7 separate regions of the Homo sapiens genome follow, and regions 1, 2, 3, 4, 6 and 7 are each linked to region 5. Evidence: promoter capture Hi-C in 16 types of primary human blood cells and fetal thymus (Javierre and others, 2016). All regions are on one chromosome and are shown on one strand. Each heading gives the region's core, a stretch centred on a gene start or on the middle of the fragment in contact. The rest is flanking DNA. Distances are from core to core; before and after follow the strand shown.

Region 1 (2,824 bases), core at 264-2,763, 210 kb after region 5:
AGATCTTGGAAGGTTGGCCCTTATCCATTCAACTCATCTTATGTACCTGTGTCCGGTCCTTCAGTCAGTAGAGAGTGACCTCCTTGAACCATTTCCTTCCCATCTTTGTCCCTTTCCCCATATTCCTTAGTCTTTTTATCTGTTATCCTCTTTCATCTTCCTGTCTCCTCTTCTGTCATGGACTGTCAGTTACATTGTAGCCCATCCACTTTCCCTCTTGGATAGAGGTGAGGGGGAGAAACCTTTAGGGTCCTGAAGGTGGAAGTCGACAGTGGAAGAGTTCATCGTGATGCCGTGACTTGTGGGTGAAATAGTTATAAAGCAATCAGACATTTCTGTGAAGGAGAACTTCCTGTTGGTGTATATTTTGAACTTAATTATGCTGAAAGAGTTCGTGTCTCCTTCTCAACATTTAATTAGTTTTTTTTTTTTGAGATGGGGTCTCACTATATTAAGCCCAGGCTGTTTCAAACCCCTGGCCTCAAGTAATCCTCCCATCTTGGCCTCCCAAAATGCTGGGATTACAGGTGTGATCAGTTACGTTTTTAAAAAGCCCTCTTATCACCCCTAACTTGGGATGTGGCAGGCTCCTTGAGGTGGAGTGGAAAGAAAAAAAACACACAAAACTATCTCTCCATAAGCTGTTCCTTGTGTTGGTTGAGCTTGGTGCCTGTCTTTCGTGGCAATGGATTTCTTCAGGTGTCCTGTGGTTTTTGTCTGTGTGCTCCTTTTGCTGTGTGAGATCTTCTGCTTTTGCGGCTACGGATGCTGGCTCTGATGGAGAAGCTTGTTTTGAGGATTATGGGGTTGAGTGGAGTGGGGCTGCCTTTGTCACTTGGGGAATGGTGGCCCCGGGGGCAGTTTTAGGCAAAGAGTAAGCACAAGCCCTTAGAGAAAATGGGAGAGAGGAGAGGGGGCGAAGAGGGGGCTGAGCGGGGGCGGAGGTGGGAGGGTAGGGAAAGGGAGAGAAAGAGGGAGAGAAAGAGAGAGAATATTCCACATGTAGTCTTCAAATTAACCACCTGGAAGATTGTCCCATGACCCCTGCACACTCCATCTATTGCTCCCCAATTTTTCCAGTCTCCTTCCTCAGTTTCCTCTTGGGTTTGTTCTCACCTTCTGTTTTTCCTTCAAGAGTTCCTCAAATCTTTTGGTTTATAGTGTTTGGCTTTCTAGTGGTATTATACATAAATAATTAAAAAATTTTTTTCCTGTGATTTCAGTCATTTGGAAGGGATTTAGGTGCATGTGATCCATTTGAAATTTGTATCTAAATGCCAGGAGGCTGCCTTGGAAGGGCGCAAGCTCCCCACCGTGACAGGCTTCTGTGTTTAAGTAGAAGGAAGAAGGAGAATATTTAAGTATGTGACAGGGAATTACTCCACGTTGATGAATTTCAAAAAATGTTCACTGTGACCTGTAAGAAGAAATACATTTTACATAGATGTTCATTCATGATACAGGTAACTGAGACAAGAGTTTCATTAAACAATGTTTACCCTATGTGTAAGGCATCGTGAATTTTTTTTTTTTTTTTTTTTGAGATAGAGTCCCACTCTGTTGCCCAGGCTGGAGTGCAGTGGTACAGTCTCGGCTCACTACAGCCTCTGCCTCCCGGGTTCAAGCGACTCTCTTGCCTCAGCCTCCCGAGTAGCTGGGGACTATAGGCACCTGCCACTACACCAGGCTCATTTTTTTTATTTTTAATAGAGACGGTTTCACCATGTTGGCCAAGCTGGTCTTGAACTCCTGACCTCAGGTGATCCACCTGCCTCGGCCTCCCAAAGTGCTGGGATTAGGGATTACAGTCATGAGCCACCGCGCCCAGTCTGATTTTTTCTGAGTCAGGGTCTCCTCTGTCGCCCAGGCTGGAGTGCAGTTGGATAATTATAGCTCACTGCAGCCTCCGCCTCCCAGGCACAAATGATCCTCCTACCTCAGCCACCTCAGCCTCCTGAGTAGCTGGAATTACAGGTGTACACCATCATGCCTGGCTAATTTTTATATTTTTTTTGTAGAGACAAGGTTTCCCCATGTTGCCCAGGCTGGTCTCGAACTCTTGAGCTCAAGTGACCCACCCGCCTTGGCCTAAGTGCTGGGATTACAAGCATGAGACACTGTGCCTGGCCACATTGTGATTTTTCTATTGTATTTCATGAAGACATTCATTTATCTAAATATGGCACTAAAAGCACAAGAAACAAAAGAAAAAATAGATAAATTGAACTTCATCTAAATTAAAAGCTTGCATGTTTCAGGGGACATTATCAAGAAAGTGAAAAGATGGGGGAAAGTTTTGAAAATCATACATATGATGAGGGTTTAATATCCAAAAAATATAAAGAACTCCTACAACTCAAGTACAAGCAAACGACCCAATTTTTAAATGGGCAAAAGACTTAAATAGACATTTCTCCAAAGAAGACTTAGACATGGACCAAAAGCACATGAAAAGATGCTCAACGTCATTAGTCATTAGGTAAATGCAAATTAAAACCACAATGAGATGTTACTTCATACCCACCAGGATGGTTATTATAAAAAAATGGAAATAACAAGTGTTATGGGGATACAGAGAAATTGGAACCCTTGTATATTGCTGGTAGGAATGTAAAACGTTGCAGCTGCTGTGGAAAACAGTATGGTGGTTTTTAAAAAGTTAAACATAGAATTACCATATGATCCGGCCTGGCTCACACCTGTAATCCCAGCACTTTGGGAGGCCAAGGTGGGCAGATCATTTGAGGTCAGGAGTTCGAGACCAGCCTGGCCAACATGGTGAAACTGCGTCTCTACTAAAAATACAAAAATCAGCCGAGCGTGG
Region 2 (2,902 bases), core at 353-2,852, 170 kb after region 5:
TGGGATTACAGGAATGCACCAACACGCCCGGCTAATTTTTCTATTTTTAGTAGAGACGGGGTTTCTCCATGTTGGTCAGGCTGGTCTCGAACTCCTCACCTCAGGTGATCCACCTTCCTTGGCCTCCCAAAGTGCTGGGATTACAGGCATGAGCCACTGCGCCCAGCCAATCCATGTATGTTCTATAACCATTAGCCTTCCAATAAAGTAGAAAATCAGTACTCAGTGCTTACATTATTTTGATTGTGAAAATATCATTTGCAGCATAACCATTGATCACTTTGATTACATTTTTGCATACAGCTTTTTTCCCCTAGAAATTTTAATTGTCTCCTTTCCCCCTTGTATTACCTTTTTTTTTCTTTTGGGAGACAGGATCTTGCTCTGTTGCCCAGGCTAGAGTGCAGTGGTGTGATCATGGCTCACTGCTGCAACCTTGGACTCCTGGGCTCAAACAGTCCTCCTGCCTCAGCCTCCTGTGGAGCTGGGACTGCAGGCATGTGCTACCACACCCAGCTAATTTATTTTATTTGTAGAGATGGGGTCTCACTATGTTGTCCAGGCTGGTCTCAAACTTCTCGCTTAAGTGATCCTCCCACCTTGGCCTCCCAAAGTGTTGGGATTACAGGTGTGAGCCACCATGTTTGGCTGTAGGTTGGTTTGTTTGTTTGTTTATGCATTGTATTTTCATGCATGGGAGCCCTTTGAATTTGGAGATTTCCTCTAATAGTAGCCACTAGCCACATATTTGGCTAAATAAAGTTGTTAAAATGAATTAAACATACAGTTCCTGCGTTGCACCAGTCACAGTTCAAGTACTCAATAGCTACATGTGGCTAGTGCAGAGCATTTCCTTCATCAAAGAAAGTTCTGTTGGTTAGCACTGATCTGCAGGCTCAGTGAAATTGCAAACAATATGATGTCTTTTTAAAAACTTGAGACAGGCCAGGTGTGGTGGCTTGTACCTGTAATCCCAGCGCTGTAGGAAATGGAAGTGGAAGGATTGCTTGAGGCCAGGAGTTCGAGGCCAGCCTGGGCAACACAGATCCCATCTCTACCAAAACAAAAACATTTATTTATCATATATTACAAGGCAATAGGGGCAGTTAGAGTAGAAATTGACAAAATTCAGAAAGAAGCTGAAGAGAAAAAAATATGATCAAGGTAAAAGCCACCAGAGAAGCAACAATAAGAAAAAATGTATCTTAGCATATAGCCAAGGACAGAGGGATTGGGCTTTAAGAAATCACAAAATGAAATTGTAAGAAAATAAAATTGTGAAAATGCTTATGGAGAAGGAGGATAGATATGGAGAAAGATAAAGGATACAAACACACATAAGTGAAATTCCAGAAGAGAACAACTAATGAACTAGAAAAATATTTATAATGGGAGATTTTTTTCCTGAGATAAAGATTAGGATCTTTCTTGTTCCAAGAAATTGTCAAAATGGTAAAACAAGCAAATCATAATCATACTGTTATTTAGTGAACTTTAAGGATCAAGAATTACAGGGACATCCACACACAAATGCTCAATGCTAGGAGACAGTGGAACAATGTCTGCAAAGTTCTGAGGAAATTGTAACCTAAGAGTTTTGTACTCAGCCAATTCATTCTTCAAGTAAAGGCCATGGACCAACATTTTCAAGTATTCAGGAATTCAGGGACTGTAGTACCCATTGGCCTTTCTTGACAGGGATGGGGGAACTATTTGGTATTGAATCTAGCAGATGAAAGGATCAATCAATAGAAAGAACCCTAGAATGGAGAAACTGATTTTAAAAAAACTAGAAATGAGCAGTGAATTCATTTAATATAAAACTAGCTATAAAATATTTGGGGGAGTGGAGAAGTCAAAATGTTAACTTCCACATCTTTCACATAGTGACAGTAGATGCTGGCTCTAAAACTTATTTGTGTATTATAGGCAAAATATGGATGCTTTTATAATATTTTTTCTTTTATTTATTTTTTGAAGTGGGGTTTCGCTTTGTTGCCCAGGCTAGAGTGCAGTGGCACGATCATGACTCACTGCAGCCTTGACCTCCTGGGCTGAAGTGATCCTCCTACCTCAGCCTCCCGAGCAGCTGGGACCACAGCCCCATACCACCATGCCCAGCTAATTTAAAAATTTTTTTAGAGATGGTCTCACTATATTACCCAGGCTGAAGCAATCCTCCCACCTTGGCCTCCCAAAGTGGTGTGATTATAGGCGTGAGCCACTGCACCTGGCTTTGTTTTTTTTTTTTTTTTTTAGAGGGTTAAGAACTAATATCTTAATGACCAAACATTTACTTGAAGATTAGCATTCATATATTTAACGAATGAATGTTGCTTGCTTACTCTATATGCTGGGCAGTATTGTAGGCACTTGGAATACATTAGTGAACAAAACACAGGGAAGTTTCTTTCCCTTATAGACATTACATTCTAGCAGAGGTACACAGATATAGGTGAGTAATACAGCATATTATAAGGTGATACGTACTTAGGGAGGTAAAAAGCAGTATAAGGAGGATTTGGGTTATAAGTATGGTCAGGGTTTTGCTGAGAAGGTAACATTTGAGCAGAGACTTATTTTTGAGACATCTGATAGACACCAAAGAGGAAATACATGTACAAATCTGAGTTATGGAGACAGGTCTAGAGTGGAGATGTAAATTTGGGAGTTGTTGGTACATAGATGAAATTTAAGCCATCAGACAGAAAGAGATAACCAAAGGAGTGATTGTAGACAAACTAAGACTAAGGACTAAGCCCTGGGGTTTGCAGCATTAGGCGGTAAGAGGAGGCTCCAGCAAAAGAGTGAGGAGGCATGGTCTTGGTTAGTGAGGTGAGAGGAAACCAAGAGGTTGGGTCAGGGGAGCCAAGTGAGGAAAGTAAATCACAGAGAGTGAGCA
Region 3 (2,916 bases), core at 405-2,904, 160 kb before region 5:
CCCTCAGTGGTAATAATGGATGTTCATTCAATAGATATTTATTAAGAATGATGGCTGGGTGTAGTGGTTCACGCCTGTAATCCCAGCACTTTGGGAGGCCAAGGTGGGAGGATTGCTTGAGTCCAGGAGTTCAAGAACAGCCTGGGCAACATGGCGAAACCCTGTCTCTACAAAAAATTAAAAAAAAAAATTAGCCAGGTGTGGTGATGCATGTCTGTGGTCCCAGCTACTTGGGAGGCTGAGGTGGGAGGATTGCTTGAGTCCAGGAAGTCAAGACTGCAATGAGCTATGATCATGCCACTACACTCCAGCCTAGGTGACTGAATGAGACCCTGTCTCCAAACAAAAACAAAAACAGGCCAGGCGCAGTGGTTCACGCCTGTAATCCCAGCACTTTGGGAGGCCGATGCAGGCAGATCACAAGGTCAGGAATTCGAGACCAGCTTGACCAACATGGTGAAACCCCGTCTCTACTAAAAATACAAAAATTAGCCAGGCGTGGTGGCGTGTGCCTGTAATCCCAGCTACTCAGGAGGCTGAGGCAGGAGAATCGCTTGAACCTGGGAGGCAGAGGTTGCAGTGAGCCGAGATCACACCATTGCACTCCAGCCTGGGCAACAGAGCGAGACTCTGTCTCAAAAAACAAAAAAACAAAAAAACAAAAATCACACTGCCAGGAGTTGATAAATACTGGATGTATTCCATCCTGGCTAACATGGTGAAACCCCAACTCTACTAAAAATACCAAAAAAAAAAAAAAAATTAGCCAGGTGTGGTGGCAGGCGCCTGTAGTCCCAGCTACTCGGGAGGCTGAGGCAGGAGAATGGCGTAAACCCAGGAGGCGGAGCTTGTAGTGAGCCGAGACCGCGCCACTGCACTCCAGCCTGTGCGACAGAGCAAGACTCCGTCTCAAAAAAAAAAAAAAAAAAATACTGGATGAATTAACAAATGAATTTTAGCTAGGTCATGACTTACACAAAGCCCTCATGTCTCCTTCTCAATCTCATCTTCAGCACTCCCTATCTACTTAGGGTTCCTCAAACATCCAATACCAAGTCACACCTCTAAGCCTGATCATGCTGGGCCCAGTGTGCAATGCCTGCTTCCAGCAGTCCCACCCCCACATTTTGGAGTGGCTAACACTGCTCCTTCAAGATTCACTTCAGAAGTCCTTCCCTGACTGCTCCCACCTCCTCGATTTCAATTAAACTAATCTCCTTCCTCTGTACCTTCAATAATGGTCTGTGATTATCTCTGTATTTGCACTAGTACTGAATAATATATTACACGCATCTCAGTGGTTGTGACCACTGTCTTAACCAATCTCAATTTTCGAGGCCTGGCAGAATGGTGACTTAAAAAATATATACAGAACTGAACTAATAAACTGGAAAACTCAGCAATTCTGTCCCCTAAGTAATACCAGATACACGCCAGTTTTCCTTTTCCTGGGTTCTTTGGGAAATGTGATCATTTTAAATACTACTATAGGACTTGTATTATGTTTGCATTAATTACTGTCTGGCCTGTTACTTATTTTGCCTTTAGCCTAGTTTTTACTTTCCATCCTCTAGTCTGGGTCATTTGAGGCAATTTTTTACTTCCCTTTATTTTTGCCTACTAGCCCAGTGTTGCTCAATTCTAGATGTGTACACAGAGCAGTTGACAGAGGGACACCCAGATGGCTCTGGTGAGCTGGGCCAAAGTGGGTAAATCACAAAGAAAGGGGAAAGAAGATATGTTTTAAGACTGTACGGAGTCTGGGCAAAAAAGTGAGACCCTGCCTCTACAAAAAGTGGAAAAAATGTGATGGCACATGCCTGTAATCCTAGCTACTCGGGAGGCTGAGCTGGAAGGATTGCTTGAGCCCAGGAGGTTGAGGCTGCAGTGAGCTATGATCACGCCACTGGATTCCAGCCTGGATGACAGAGAAAGATCCTGTCTCAGAAAAATTTAAACAAGAGACCTCTCAGCCACACATGGACAGATAAAAGACTATATCAGGAGTTCTCTAGTTTCCTCGGATAAAAATGAAGATAATAAGGTATCTGTCAGCTTGTTATGAGAATTTATATATATATATATATATATATAAAATTTTTGTGGGTACATAGTAGGTGTATATATTTACGGGGTAAATGAGGTATTTTGGTTCAGGCATACAATGCATAATAATCACATCAGGGTAAATGAAGTATCCTTTACCTCAAGCATTTATCATTTTTCTTTGTGTTACAAGCATCCCAATTATACTCTTTCAGTTTATTTACAATACCTAAAAGAGTATAGCTTTTTTAGTTATTTAAAATGTACAATAAGCTAGGCGCGGTGGCTCACACCTGTAATCCCAGCACTTTGGGGGGCTGAGGTGGGTGGATCGCCTGAGGTCAGGAGTTCTACACCAGCCTGACCAATATGGTGAAACCCGTCTCTACTAAAAATACAAAAAATAGGCTGGGTGTGGTGGCGTGTGCCTGCAGTCCTAGCTACTCGGGAGGCTGAGACAGGAGAATTGCTTGAACCTGGGAGGCAGAGGTTGCAGTGAGCCAAGATAGCACCACTGCACTCCAGCCTGGGCAACAGAGTGAGAATCTGTCTCAAAAAAATAAAAAATAAATAAAATAATAAAAAATAAAATGTATAATAAAGTATTATTGACTGCAGTCACCCTACTGTGCTATCAAATACTAGGTCTTATTCATTCTAACTATATTTTTGTACTCATTAACCATCCTCACTCCACCCCCAATAAATTGGTATTTGTAAAGCACTTAGAATAGTACCTGACATATAAGTCTTAAATAAGTGTTTATGAAATTAATAAAATTAAGATGTTACTTATTAACATGCCTTAATAATTTAAAGAACCAGTAGGGGGCCAGGTACGGTGGCTCACGCCTGTAATCCCAATATTTT
Region 4 (2,953 bases), core at 283-2,782, 240 kb before region 5:
AAAAGTACACATTTTTTTACAGGAAATTTGCAAACAGAAAAGCTCCAGTTGGACACAAGCATAAATCAGATAAATTAACATCTCATTTGGAGGGTGAATTTGTAGTCCTGTGTTAATACAACGGATTTTTAGAGCAGAGAAACAATAGCCCTTAAAACTGCCAGGGGGTAAAGAAGTAAACAAGTGCTTTCTTAAGGACTGAAATGAAAAAGAAAAAGACCATTTCCCCCTAGATATGTGAACTCCTTTCATTATTCATGACATTGGCCCAAATTCCTAAACCGACTAATTTCCACAATAATGAAAACAGTAGTTGATAAGAACCACTGTAGACTAATGTCCAAGATAAATGTTTTCCAAAAGAAGTCAGATACCTGAAAACAATGCTCTGTATCTCTCTGAGTTCTCCAGCAAATCAGTACTGAGCTCCTCAGTCAAAGGTAATGTTGTCCTGCAAGCCTTTGTATCAGTGTCTGTTATGGCTTCCTAGATTAGAAGGCAGCCACATATAAAAATGTAGCCCTGTATTATATTTAATACAGGAGGGCTTTGGGATTTATTGGTGGCTCAGAGAGCATGCCATGAAAATGGGCTTACAGAGTCAATGATCAACCAGGGGCCCTATTAGGCAGGCAAGTAACTACATAAGAGAAACTCTGGCAAAAATGAAAGGGTAACTAAACACAAAGAGCCTTGTGGAGAAGTAAGATATTTTGCAAATTGTGTTTTGGAAAGTGAGCCTCTTAGAGGAAAACAACTACATGCTGACTGTGGTTAAATATAGGAATAAATTAAATTAACCACCAAGTTACAATATAACTCTTTGTTTCCTCATCTTTCTTAGAACTTAGCCTTAAAGGCCCAGTGTTGTGAAGATGAAGGCTTTTATGAAGTTTTGTATCCACTTTAAAGAAGCCCCTTAAGTGTAAATTTTATTTATTTTAATTTTTATTTGTTTTTAGTTGTTTTCTTTTTTTTTTTTTTCTTGAGACAGGTTCTCACTCCATTGCCCAGGCTGGAGTGCAGTGGTGCAATCACAATTTACTGCAACCTCGACCTTCTGGGCTCCAGCAATCCTCCCACCTCAGCATCCCAAGTAGCTAGACCACAGGAACGCACCACCACGCCCAGCTTTTCTTTTTTTTTTTTTTAATTTTTTGTAGAGATGAGGTCTTGCTACATCACCCAGGCTGGTCTCCAACTCCTGGCCTCAAATGATCCTCCCCCCTCAGCCTCCCAAAGAGCTGGGATTACAGGCATGAGCCTGCGCCCAGCCAGCTGTAAAATTTAGAAGCTGAAACGCCAACTGGGAGCAGTGGCTCACGCCTGTAATCCCAACACTTTGGGAGGCCAAGGCGGGCAGATCACGAGGTCAGGAGTTCGAGACCAGCATGGCCAATATAGTGAAACCCTGTCTCTACTAAAAATACAAAAAATTAGCCCGGGGTGGTGGCAGGCCCCTGTAATCCCAGCTACTCAGGAGGCTGAGGCAGGAGAATCACTTGAACCCAGGAGGTGGAGGTTGCAGTTAGCAGAGATTGCACCATTGCACTCCAGCCTGGGCAACAGTGTGAGACTCTGTCTCAAAAAAAAAAAAAAAAAGAAGAAGCTGAAACACCACAGCATTAGCCCACTACTAGCTCAACTCAATTACAAAGAGACCTCTTTAAAAACTGAACTATAAAGCAAATCTATAAAGTTTGAAGTCACCAGGCAAGTAAGAAAACATGTTACGGGGAAATTATCTGAAAAGAAACAACAAACAATGATAAACATGGAAAACCAGAGTCCAAGATCATCAACCGCTTAGATTCCACACAGTAGTCTTTCTAGGGAAAGAAAGTAGAGTCTTTTTTACAGAAATGCTGAAGAAGCAATTCAGAAGAAACCTAATGATTTATTAATGCCTTCGACCCACTCTACCCCTTCCTGTGAGTCTCCTTTCCACTGGGGACCCAGCAGGGCCTAGAATGGATGATGCTCATCACGGTTCACTGAAGCAGGTGGCTGCTCACCAGCAACTGATGGAACTGCCAGGCCCTGGGAAACCAGCCACCTTCTCCTGCTAGGAGTGAAGCAACTTCCTCACTGACTGTGACAGCCATGGCCTTCCTCTGAGTCTGCAGGTGACCATGTCTGCTCCTAGAATTCTATTTCCTTGACTGGTGCCATGTTTGTTTGTTTGTTTGTTTGTTTTGAGACAGAGTTTCGCTTTTGTTGCTCAGGCTGGAGTGCAGTGGCGCGATCTCGGCTCACGTGAACCCGGGAGGTGGAGGTTGCAGTGAGCCGCGATCACGCCACTGCATTCCAGCCTGAGCGACAGGGCAAGATTACGTCTCAAAAAAAAAAAAAAAAAAGAAAAAGAAAAAAACTAGTGATAAGAGCTAACATTTATTAAGCACTAATCAGGAACCAGGCTTTCAGTTTAGCACTTTGTATACATTATTATCTCATCTAATTCTCACAACGACTGTATGAGATTGGTACAATTATAAGTTTCTTTTTACAATGAGAAACTAAACCTAAGAGAAGTTAAGTTGCCCAAGGCCACACAACTAGACCTGGGAATCAAGCTCCAAACCAATTTCTCAAACCCCTGGGGCTTCCTGCCATAGTCTCACAGGACCTCACAGTTTCTATAAGAATGATTGAATATGGTGTTTCTGTGTGATTCTACTGCAAAGAATAATCAGTATAAGCATTTTCTGGATAATCAAAAGCAGTGATTCTCAGTATGGGCTACACATTAGAATGGCCTAGAAAGCACTGTAAAAATACTAATGCCCCATCCTGAGAGAGATTTCTTTTTTTTTTTTTTTTGAGATGGAGTCTCACTCTGTCCCCCAGGCTGGAGTGTAGTGGCGTGATCTTGGCTCACTGCAAGCTCCGCCTCCCGGGTTCACGCCATTCTCCTGCCTCAGCCTCCCGAGTAGCTGGGACTACAGGCGCCCAC
Region 5 (2,700 bases), core at 83-2,582:
GCAGCTTCCCCCGCGGCGCCGCCGTCGGGGCTGAGGACACTCAGCTGTCCTCGTCCCCTTGCAGCGGTCTCTCTCCGCCTGCACGAGCGATGGGCCCTGAGCCACTGCGGTGCGCCCACCCTCGACAAGTTGAGGGCTAGGAAGCCAGGAAAGTGTCTTTTTGCATCTTGGCCACGGTGGGGGTGGGGGAATCGGGGACAACGTGGAGGGAGCTTTTCCATAGCTACCTGTTATAAAAGTGACTAGATCTGCGCCAAATGACATCATTTTTTGTAAGGCAACTTGCAGTGGACTATTGCGTCACTGTCCACTTGGCTTACTGCACAACAATTACACGTTTCAGAAATCGATTTCCCAAGGGTGGGAAAATTCATAAAAAATTGCATGTCTGCACCACCCGGAGATAATGCCGGATTTAAAAAAGCTGTCTCTACTTGCGTCAAAATAATCAAGAACGAACATTCAGAGGGCAGTGATTTTTGTTGTTCGTTTTTTATAGAATTCTAGCTAGTACTTTTTAAATATTACCTTTTCTTGACAAGAATATAAAACTAGACTATAGGACTGTTTTGTAAATTTATTATGGCATCTCTTTCTGGGAAAAGTGTAGATGACGGAAATACACAGTTGGAAGCCCGTGGATCTACAATTAACCTTAAATTAGGGCATCCATTGCCCATAGCAGATCCTAAACTGAGGTATTTCGGCTTCCCCCACCCCCACCCCCCGCCGCCATTTTCTCTCTAGACCAATATCCCGATGAACTTTCCGTGAGAGGTGTCGCTAAAAGCGATAATTATCTCTTTCTAGCAAACTTGAACATACCATCTTTCCCAAGAGGCCAAAATAGCACACGGTGTACTGTTTTGCTGAAGTAGACTACTTCGTGGGAGAGATAACACAATCACTTCAATCTTTTGGAAATACGCTTCCTTATTCCGATTTAAACTATAACAAGCTTTAAAAAAACTGTAAGACACTGAAATTCCCAAGTTGTTCACACTTTCTTTCCATCTTTTCCAATAGCTCCTTTAAGATATTTCTGTTCATTATTTAAAAATCCCTGCTTGCCATATTTGTATCTATTACTACATGACAAATTACCCCAGAATTTCACATTAAAACAAATTTTTAAAATTAAATCATAAAATAAACTTTAAAAATGCATACATTCCACTTCTGAATATTTAAATGTTCATGCATTATTCCCGAACATCTAAACGCTGAGTTTGGATTTTTGTACATTAACTAACATTTTAAGCTATACATTACTATGTGGCACTGACCTGTCTAAAGAGAGGCTTCTGTTCTTGATTCAAGCAAGAGTTGAAACGTTTCTGCGCTCTTTGTACCAGGTATAAATGTAGTGAGTGTATGTCATAAGCCATTGTGTGATCACCGTGCTTCCCGTCCCTCCTTATTTTGACATTGCAAGGTCTCGTGGAATTTCAAATGTGCTTTTTTGGATATTTATGTAGTTTTAAAACTGGGCTGTGTCTTTCAATCAATCTATACGTTTACTATATGAACCCCTCCCCAAGTTATCTTCAATCAATGATGCCTCTTTCACTCTTATTTCTTATTTTTATGTTATTATTATTATTTTTTTTTTGAGACAGTCTCACTCTCGGCCAGGCTGGAGGGCAGAGGCATGATCTCAGCTCACTGCAGCCTTGACCTCCCGGGCTCAAGCAATCCTTCCACCTCAGCCTCCCGAATAGCTAGGACCACAGACGTGCCCCACCATGCTCGGCTAACTTTTCTTTTCTTGTTTTTGTTTGTTTGTTTGTTTTGTTTTTGTTTGCTTGTTTTTTTCTGAGATGGAGTCTGTCGCTCAGGCTGGGGTGCAGTGGATCTCGGCTGACTGCAACCTCCGCCTCCCGGGTTCAAGCGATTATCCTGCCTCAGCCTCCCGAGTAGCTGGGATTACAGGCGCTCGCCACCGTGCCCAGCTAACTTTTGTATTTTTAGTAGAGACGGGGTTTCACTGTGTTGGCTAGGCTGGTCTCAAACCCCCGACCTCATGATCGCCCGCCTTGGCCTCCCAAAGTGCTGGGATTACAAGCGTGAGCCACTGCACTCCAGCTCAGGCAACAGAGCAAAAACACCGTCTCAAAAAAAAAAAAGAAAAGAAAATATATTTTAACTTTCCCCACCAATTTCTGGACTGTAATGGGAGTTGTTAAATACCTTGAGAGTATCCTTTCACACTGGTAGAGTCCCACAGAGGTAGATGGAAGCTGTCTTTTCTTAGCCCTCTAGCCTAAGTATTTGAGAATACACATTCCTCAATAGCTATTTATTTAGCAGCTAGCGAGGTCGGAAGCATGCTAGAAGCCTGGGCCTGGGAGTGCTGGTGGAGTTGGAATGAGGTTCTTCCCCAGGGGTTCTGAGGATTTAGGATACTGCATACCCTCCTCCTCCCTCCTGTTTTTGCTTTTTAAGAAATTGAGGCCAGGCGTGGTGGCTCACGCCTGTAATTCCAGCACTTTGGGAGGCCGAGGCGGAAGGATCATTAGAGGTCAGGAGTTGGAAACCAGCCTGACGAACATAGTGAAACCCCGTCTCTATTAAAAATACAAAAAATTAGCTGGCATGGTGGTGCGGGCCTGCGGTCCCAGCTACTCAGGAGGCTGAGGTAGGAGTATGGCTTGAGCCCAGGAGGCAGAGGTTGCAGTGAGTCGAGATTGCACCACTGCA
Region 6 (2,904 bases), core at 354-2,853, 210 kb before region 5:
ATGCTGGGTCACATGTTTAGCATTTTGTGGAACTGCCAAACTGTTTTCTCCACATCCTTGTCAACACCTGTTCTTATCTTTTTTATCCTAGTGGGTATGAAATGACACCTTGTGGTTTTCATGCGCATTTTTCTGATGACTAATGATGCTGAACAGCTTTTCATGGGTTTATTGGCCATTTGTATATCTTCTTTTTAAAAATGTCTGTCAGGCTGGGCACGGTGGCTCATGTCTGTAATCCCAGCACTTTGGGAGGCCGAGGTGGGCAGACTGCCTGAGCTCAGGAGTTCGCAACCAGCCTGGGCAACACGGTGAAACCCCACCTCTGCTGAAATACAAAAAATTAGCCAGGCATGGCGGTGTGCGCTAGTAGTCCCAGCTACTCAAGAGGCTGAGGCAGAACTGCTTAAACCCAGGAGGCAGAGGTTGCAGTGAGCTGAGATCGTGCTACTGCACTCCAGCCTGGGTGACAGAGCAAGACTCCATCTCAAAAAAAAAAAAAAAGAGTCTGTTCAAATCCTTTGTTTTATTTTTTGAGAGGGAGTCTCACTCTGTCGCCCAGGCTGGAGTACAGTGGCGTAATCTCGACTCACTGCAACCTCCGCCTCCTGGGTTCAAGTGATTCTCCTGCCTCAGCCTCCCGAGTAGCTGAGAGTACAGGCGTATGCCACCACACCCGGCTAATTTTTTTTTTGAGACAGTGTTTCGCTCTGTTGCCCAGGCTGGAGTGCAGTGGCACGATCTCAGCTCACTGCAACCTTCACCTCCCAGGGATTCTACTGCCTCAGTCTCCCCAATAACTGGGATTACAGGCGTGTGCCACCACGTTTGGCTAATTTTTGCATTTTTTGTAGAACAGGGTTTCACCATGTTGGTCAGGCTGGTCTTGAACTCCTGACCTCAAATGATCCACCCGCCTTGGCCTCCCAAAGTGCTGGGATTACAGGCGTGAACCACCACGCCTGGCCAATTTTTGTATTTTTAGTAGAGACGGGGTTTCACCATGTTGGCCAGGCTGGTCTTGAACTCCTGACCTCAGATGATCCACCCGCCTTGGCCTCCCAAAGTGCTGGGATTACAGGCTTGTGCCACCGCGCCTGGCCCTCTGCTCAGTTTTAATTGGGTTGTTTTCTTATTGTTGAGTTGTAAAAGTTCTTTAAATATTCTGTATATGCGAGCCTCTTATCAGATCTATGTACAAATATTTTCCTGTACTCCATGGGTTTTTTTCTTTATTACTTTTTTAATAGAAATGAGGTCTTGCTATGTTTCCCAGGTGGGTCTCGAACTCCTGGGCTCAAGCAATCCTCCCACCTCGGCCTCCCAAAGTGCTGGGATTACAGGTGTGAGCCACTGCATTCAGCTTGTTTTTTTAAAGAAAGGGTTTTATTGTCACCCAGGCTCATGGCCCACTGCAGCCTCAACCTCCTGGGCTCAAGCAATCCTCCATCAGCCTCCTGAGTAGCTGAGACTACAGGTGTGTGCTACCACGCCTGGCTAATTTTGATATTTTTTTGGTAGAGACAGGGTCTTGCTAAGCTGCCCAGGGTGGTTTCAAACTCCTGGGCTCAAGTGATCCACCTGCCTTGGCCTCCCTAAGTGCTGGGATTACAGGCATGAGCTACCACACCCAACTGCCTTTTTATTTTCTTGATGGTATAATTTATAGCACAAAAGTTTCTACATTCTGAGGTAGTCCAATTTATCTGTTTTGTCACCCGTGCTTTTGGTGTTGTATCTAAAAAACCACTGCCTAACCCAAGATCACGATTTACTCCTTTTCCAAGATTTATTCCTATGCTGTCTTCTGAAAGTCTAACAGATTTAGTTACGACATTTAGGTGTATGATTCCACACAGACTTCTAAAAGTCTCACCTATTTGGTAGTGCTTTCCCAGGGAAATATTTATGGCACCACTAAGAAACAAACAATTAAACTATTGTGTTTAAAACAAAATGTGCAATGTGTGCTCTTTAGCATTCTGATCTAGGCTGAGAACAATATTTGAAATGAGCCAGTGCTCTCTCTGTAGGACAAATAAATGCTTTCATAAAGACGTCACTTTTGAATGGAGTGCAGTTTATGACCTATTTACTTATGAACCAGCCCAAACCGCTTGCCTCCATAGCGTGAGGGAAGGAAGAAAGACTCTACTGTGAGAATCAGGAAAAAAACCCAATCACTAATTTGGTCTAAACAAGGGAGCTTAGAGTTTTCTGTGGCTTTCAAAAACTACTTTCTCTTTGCTTGAAGAAGATGAATAAAAACAGTTTTTTTAATGTCTTGTGACCTGGAAATATTTAATGTAAATATAATGGTCCTTTTATTTATGTTCTTCTAAAGCTGATGGCAAGATGGCATGACATAAAACAAACACCATCTTAACATGCTGTTTTCGGTGGTGGGTCCTCAAGATTTGCTTAAAATGACTCAAAGGACTCAACATACATGTTCTCATGCCTTAGGTTTATCCTAACAAAGGATTCATGACAGGACCAGCAAAGGAAAAAGACACAGCAGAGTCTGGAGAAATCCACACACAGGCTTCCCATGCTTTCTCCCTCCCAACCCGGGAGGGCACACGTTGAGCATGCTCCCTTCTCCAGCAGCAAAACTGAAGCCACACGTGTGCAATGCTTCTGCCCAGAGAAGCCTATCAGAGATTCACCGCCAAAGCCTTTTTTTGTTTTGTTTTGAGACAGAATCTCGCTCTGTCACCCAGGCTGAAGTGCAGTGGCATGATCACGGCTCACTACAGCCTCAAACTCCTGGGCTCAAGTGATTCTCCTGCCTTGGCCTCCTGAGTAGCTGAGACTGCAGGCGCGTGCCACCACACCTGGCTAATTTTTGTGTTTTTAGTAGAGATGGGGTTTCACCATGTTGGTCAGGCTGGTCTCAAACTC
Region 7 (2,700 bases), core at 123-2,622, 230 kb after region 5:
GGTCACCATCCTCCTGACGTGAAGGGTGAAGGTCTTAGTTTAACTGATAGAATCTACTAACTACTTTTAAACAGCAAAGGAATTTTATTTCTACTTTTTTTTTTTTTTTTTTAGACAGAGTTTCGCTTTTGTTGCCCAGGCTGGAGTGTAGTGGCACGATTTTGGCTCACTGCAACCTCCGCCTCCCAGGTTCAAGCGATTCTTCTGCCTCAGCCTCCCGAGTAGCTGGGATTACAGGCATGTGCCACCACACCCAGCTAATTTTTGTATTTTTAGTAGAGATGGGCTTTCTCCATGTTGGTCAGGCTGGTCTTGAACTCCCGACCTCAGGTGATCCGCCTGCCTCGGCCTCCCAAAGTGCTGGGATTACAGGCACGAGCCACTGCGCCCGGCCTATTTCTACTTTTTACTGAGGAATGGAATAAAGTACTCAAAGAGAGTTAATACATTATACACCTTAACTTTTACATGTGTATACACTTGTGTAATCACCACCTGGATCAAAATATAGATGATCCTCCTCAGCCTTCCAGAAGTTCTTTGTGCCTCTTCCCAGTATGAATCCCCTCTTCCCACTACAAGTAACCATTTCCTCTGATTTCTATCATCATCGATTAGTTTTCCTGTTTTTGAACATTATATACATGGAATTACACCATACGTATGTGTCTGACTTCCTTTGCTGAACATATAGTTAGGAGATTCACCCTTGTTGTGTATATAAGTTGTCCTTTTGTATTGCAGTGTAATGTTCTATTGGATGAATAGATCACATATTCCTTCTCCTATTGACAGACATTTGGTTCTTTTCCAGTTTTTAGTTATGCTGAATAAAACTTCTAGGAACATTCTCATTCATGTCTTTTGGTATACATATGCATTTATTTCTCTTAGGTGCAAACCTAGGAAAGAGATTGTTGGGCCATAGACCAGGCATGTATTTAGCTTTAGTAGATACAGTTAAATAATGTTTCCACAGTGGTTGTACCAATTTATATTCCCATCAGCAATGTATGAAAGTTCCAGTTGCTCCACATCCTTGCCAATACCTAGTATTATGAGCCTTTTTATTTTTAGCCATTCTGGGGATTTGTAGAGGTATCTCATGGTTTTAATTTGCATTTTCCTGATGAGTAGTGACGTTGATCACTGGGACAGATGAGATTTTCCTAAAGAAATTCTCAACAATGTCTCCCATTCCACATGACCTTATAATGTAACTTTAGCATTCTTCCTATGGAGAGGTGGCATCTGTGTTCCCTCCCCTTGAATCTTGTGACTATGGTGGAAATGGTAACATGTGATTTCTGAGGCTAGGTCTTAAGAGGCATTACCTAGTTTTTTGAGACACCCCTTTGGAGCCCAGAGCTTCCATACAAGTAGTTAAACCTGACGTCACTATGCTATGACAAAGCCCAAACAAGCTCATACAGAGAGATCATGGGAAGAGCCCTTGAGGCTACATGAGAAGAAAAAGATTTCCAGCCAGCCCCCCGCTGCTGCAATCCCCCACTGGTCCAGCTCTAACTACCATTTGACTACAACTGCATGAATCACACTAAGCCAGACCCTCCCAGCTAATACAGTCCTCAATACTTGAATGTTGCTTTAAGCCAGTAATTCTCAACTGGGGGAGATTTTGCACCGCGCTGCACCCCGCCCCGGGATGTGTGGCAATGCCTGGAGATATTGTCATAACTTGGAGGTGGGTGCATGGTGGTACTTGCTTCCAGTGGGTGGAGACCAGGGGTGCTGCTAAACATCCTGCAGGGACACAGGACAGCCTCCAGGACAAAGAATTATCTGGTCCCAAATGCCAACTGTGCTGAGATCGAGAAACCCTACTTAAACTACATAATCCACTAAGTTTTAGGTTGATTTGTAATGTAGCAAAAGTACTAGAACAATCATGCAGGCAGAGAGGGAGTTTATTTTTATTTATTTTTGAGACAGAGTTTTGCTCTTGTCACCCAGGCTGGAGTGCAGTGGCACGATCTCGGCTCACTGCAACCTCCGCCTCCTGGGTTCAAGCGATTCTCCCGCCTCAGCCTCCCAAGTAGCTGAGATTACAGGCACCTGTTACCACACCCGGCTAATTTTTGTATTTTTAGTAGAGACAGGGTTTCACCATGCTGGCCAGGCTGGTCTCAAATTCCTGACCTCAGATGATCCGCCCACCTTGGCCTCCCAAAGTGCTGGGATTATAGGCATGAGCCACTGCGCCTGGCCCAAGAGGGAGTTTATTAAAGAAGATTAGTTCACGGGCTAGGCGCGGTGGCTCACACCTGTAAGCCCAGCACTTTGGGAGGCTGAGGTGGGCAGATCACCTGAGGTCAGGAGTTTGAGACCAGCCTGGCCAACATGGTGGAACCCCATCTGTACTAAAAATACAAAAAATTAGCCAGACGTGGTTGCGGGTGCCTGTAGTCCCAGCTACTCGGGAGGCTGAGGCAGGAGAATCGCTTGGACCCAGGAGGCGGAGGTTGCAGTGAGCCGAGTTCGTGCCACTGAGTTCCAGCCTGGGCAACAGAATGAGAATCTGTCTCAAACAAACAAACAAAGAAAATTAGTTCACAGATCTCTGAGAGGGCCGGAGTGTTGGACTTAAATGTTACTCAGCCTGGAGTACTGCTCAAACCGCATCACTGGCTGTCCAGTGAAGACCACTGGATGTGGACCCACAGCTTGCACCTGTGATAC

The links. Contacts are between HindIII fragments. The CHiCAGO score rates a contact against its expected background, and 5 or more counts as called.
Region 1: a fragment that was not itself captured here is called in contact with the fragment with the promoter of KLHL15 in region 5 in 8 of 17 cell types (activated CD4 T cells, naive CD8 T cells, naive B cells and 5 more); the score reaches 8.2 in activated CD4 T cells.
Region 2: a fragment that was not itself captured here is called in contact with the fragment with the promoter of KLHL15 in region 5 in 6 of 17 cell types (activated CD4 T cells, non-activated CD4 T cells, naive CD8 T cells and 3 more); the score reaches 7.1 in activated CD4 T cells.
Region 3: a contact is called between a fragment that was not itself captured here and the fragment with the promoter of KLHL15 in region 5, in 2 of 17 cell types (neutrophils and activated CD4 T cells). The highest score is 5.9, in neutrophils.
Region 4: a fragment that was not itself captured here is called in contact with the fragment with the promoter of KLHL15 in region 5 in 11 of 17 cell types (activated CD4 T cells, naive CD4 T cells, naive CD8 T cells and 8 more); the score reaches 14.0 in activated CD4 T cells.
Region 6: a fragment that was not itself captured here is called in contact with the fragment with the promoter of KLHL15 in region 5 in 1 of 17 cell types (monocytes); the score reaches 5.3 in monocytes.
Region 7: a fragment that was not itself captured here is called in contact with the fragment with the promoter of KLHL15 in region 5 in 1 of 17 cell types (activated CD4 T cells); the score reaches 7.1 in activated CD4 T cells.

Annotation. Positions count from the first base shown.
Region 1 is chrX:24,237,997-24,240,820 of GRCh38, forward strand. No RefSeq gene overlaps it. Among named protein-coding and RNA genes, the nearest start is that of SUPT20HL2, 75 kb to the right of the region's middle. The HindIII fragment of the contact is 1,458 bases long and covers 785-2,242 here.
Region 2 is chrX:24,196,245-24,199,146 of GRCh38, forward strand. The region is part of intron 5 of ZFX (zinc finger protein X-linked); the gene reads left to right. Among named protein-coding and RNA genes, the nearest start is that of ZFX, 48 kb to the left of the region's middle. The HindIII fragment of the contact is 8,157 bases long and covers 1-2,902 here.
Region 3 is chrX:23,870,452-23,873,367 of GRCh38, forward strand. All of the region lies in intron 4 of APOO (apolipoprotein O), which reads right to left. Among named protein-coding and RNA genes, the nearest start is that of APOO, 36 kb to the right of the region's middle. The HindIII fragment of the contact is 5,355 bases long and covers 1-2,916 here.
Region 4 is chrX:23,788,047-23,790,999 of GRCh38, forward strand. No RefSeq gene overlaps it. Among named protein-coding and RNA genes, the nearest start is that of SAT1, 6.4 kb to the left of the region's middle. The HindIII fragment of the contact is 7,227 bases long and covers 1-2,953 here.
Region 5 is chrX:24,025,854-24,028,553 of GRCh38, forward strand. KLHL15 (kelch like family member 15) reads right to left here and starts at 1,333. Exons shown (of 4, transcript NM_030624.3): 1 at 1,287-1,333. RefSeq lists enhancers at 1-201, 202-705, 1,913-2,412 and a silencer at 1-34. The HindIII fragment of the contact is 3,234 bases long and covers 957-2,700 here.
Region 6 is chrX:23,820,501-23,823,404 of GRCh38, forward strand. No RefSeq gene overlaps it. Among named protein-coding and RNA genes, the nearest start is that of SAT1, 39 kb to the left of the region's middle. The HindIII fragment of the contact is 3,324 bases long and covers 1-2,904 here.
Region 7 is chrX:24,256,146-24,258,845 of GRCh38, forward strand. No RefSeq gene overlaps it. Among named protein-coding and RNA genes, the nearest start is that of SUPT20HL2, 57 kb to the right of the region's middle. The HindIII fragment of the contact is 3,091 bases long and covers 1-2,700 here.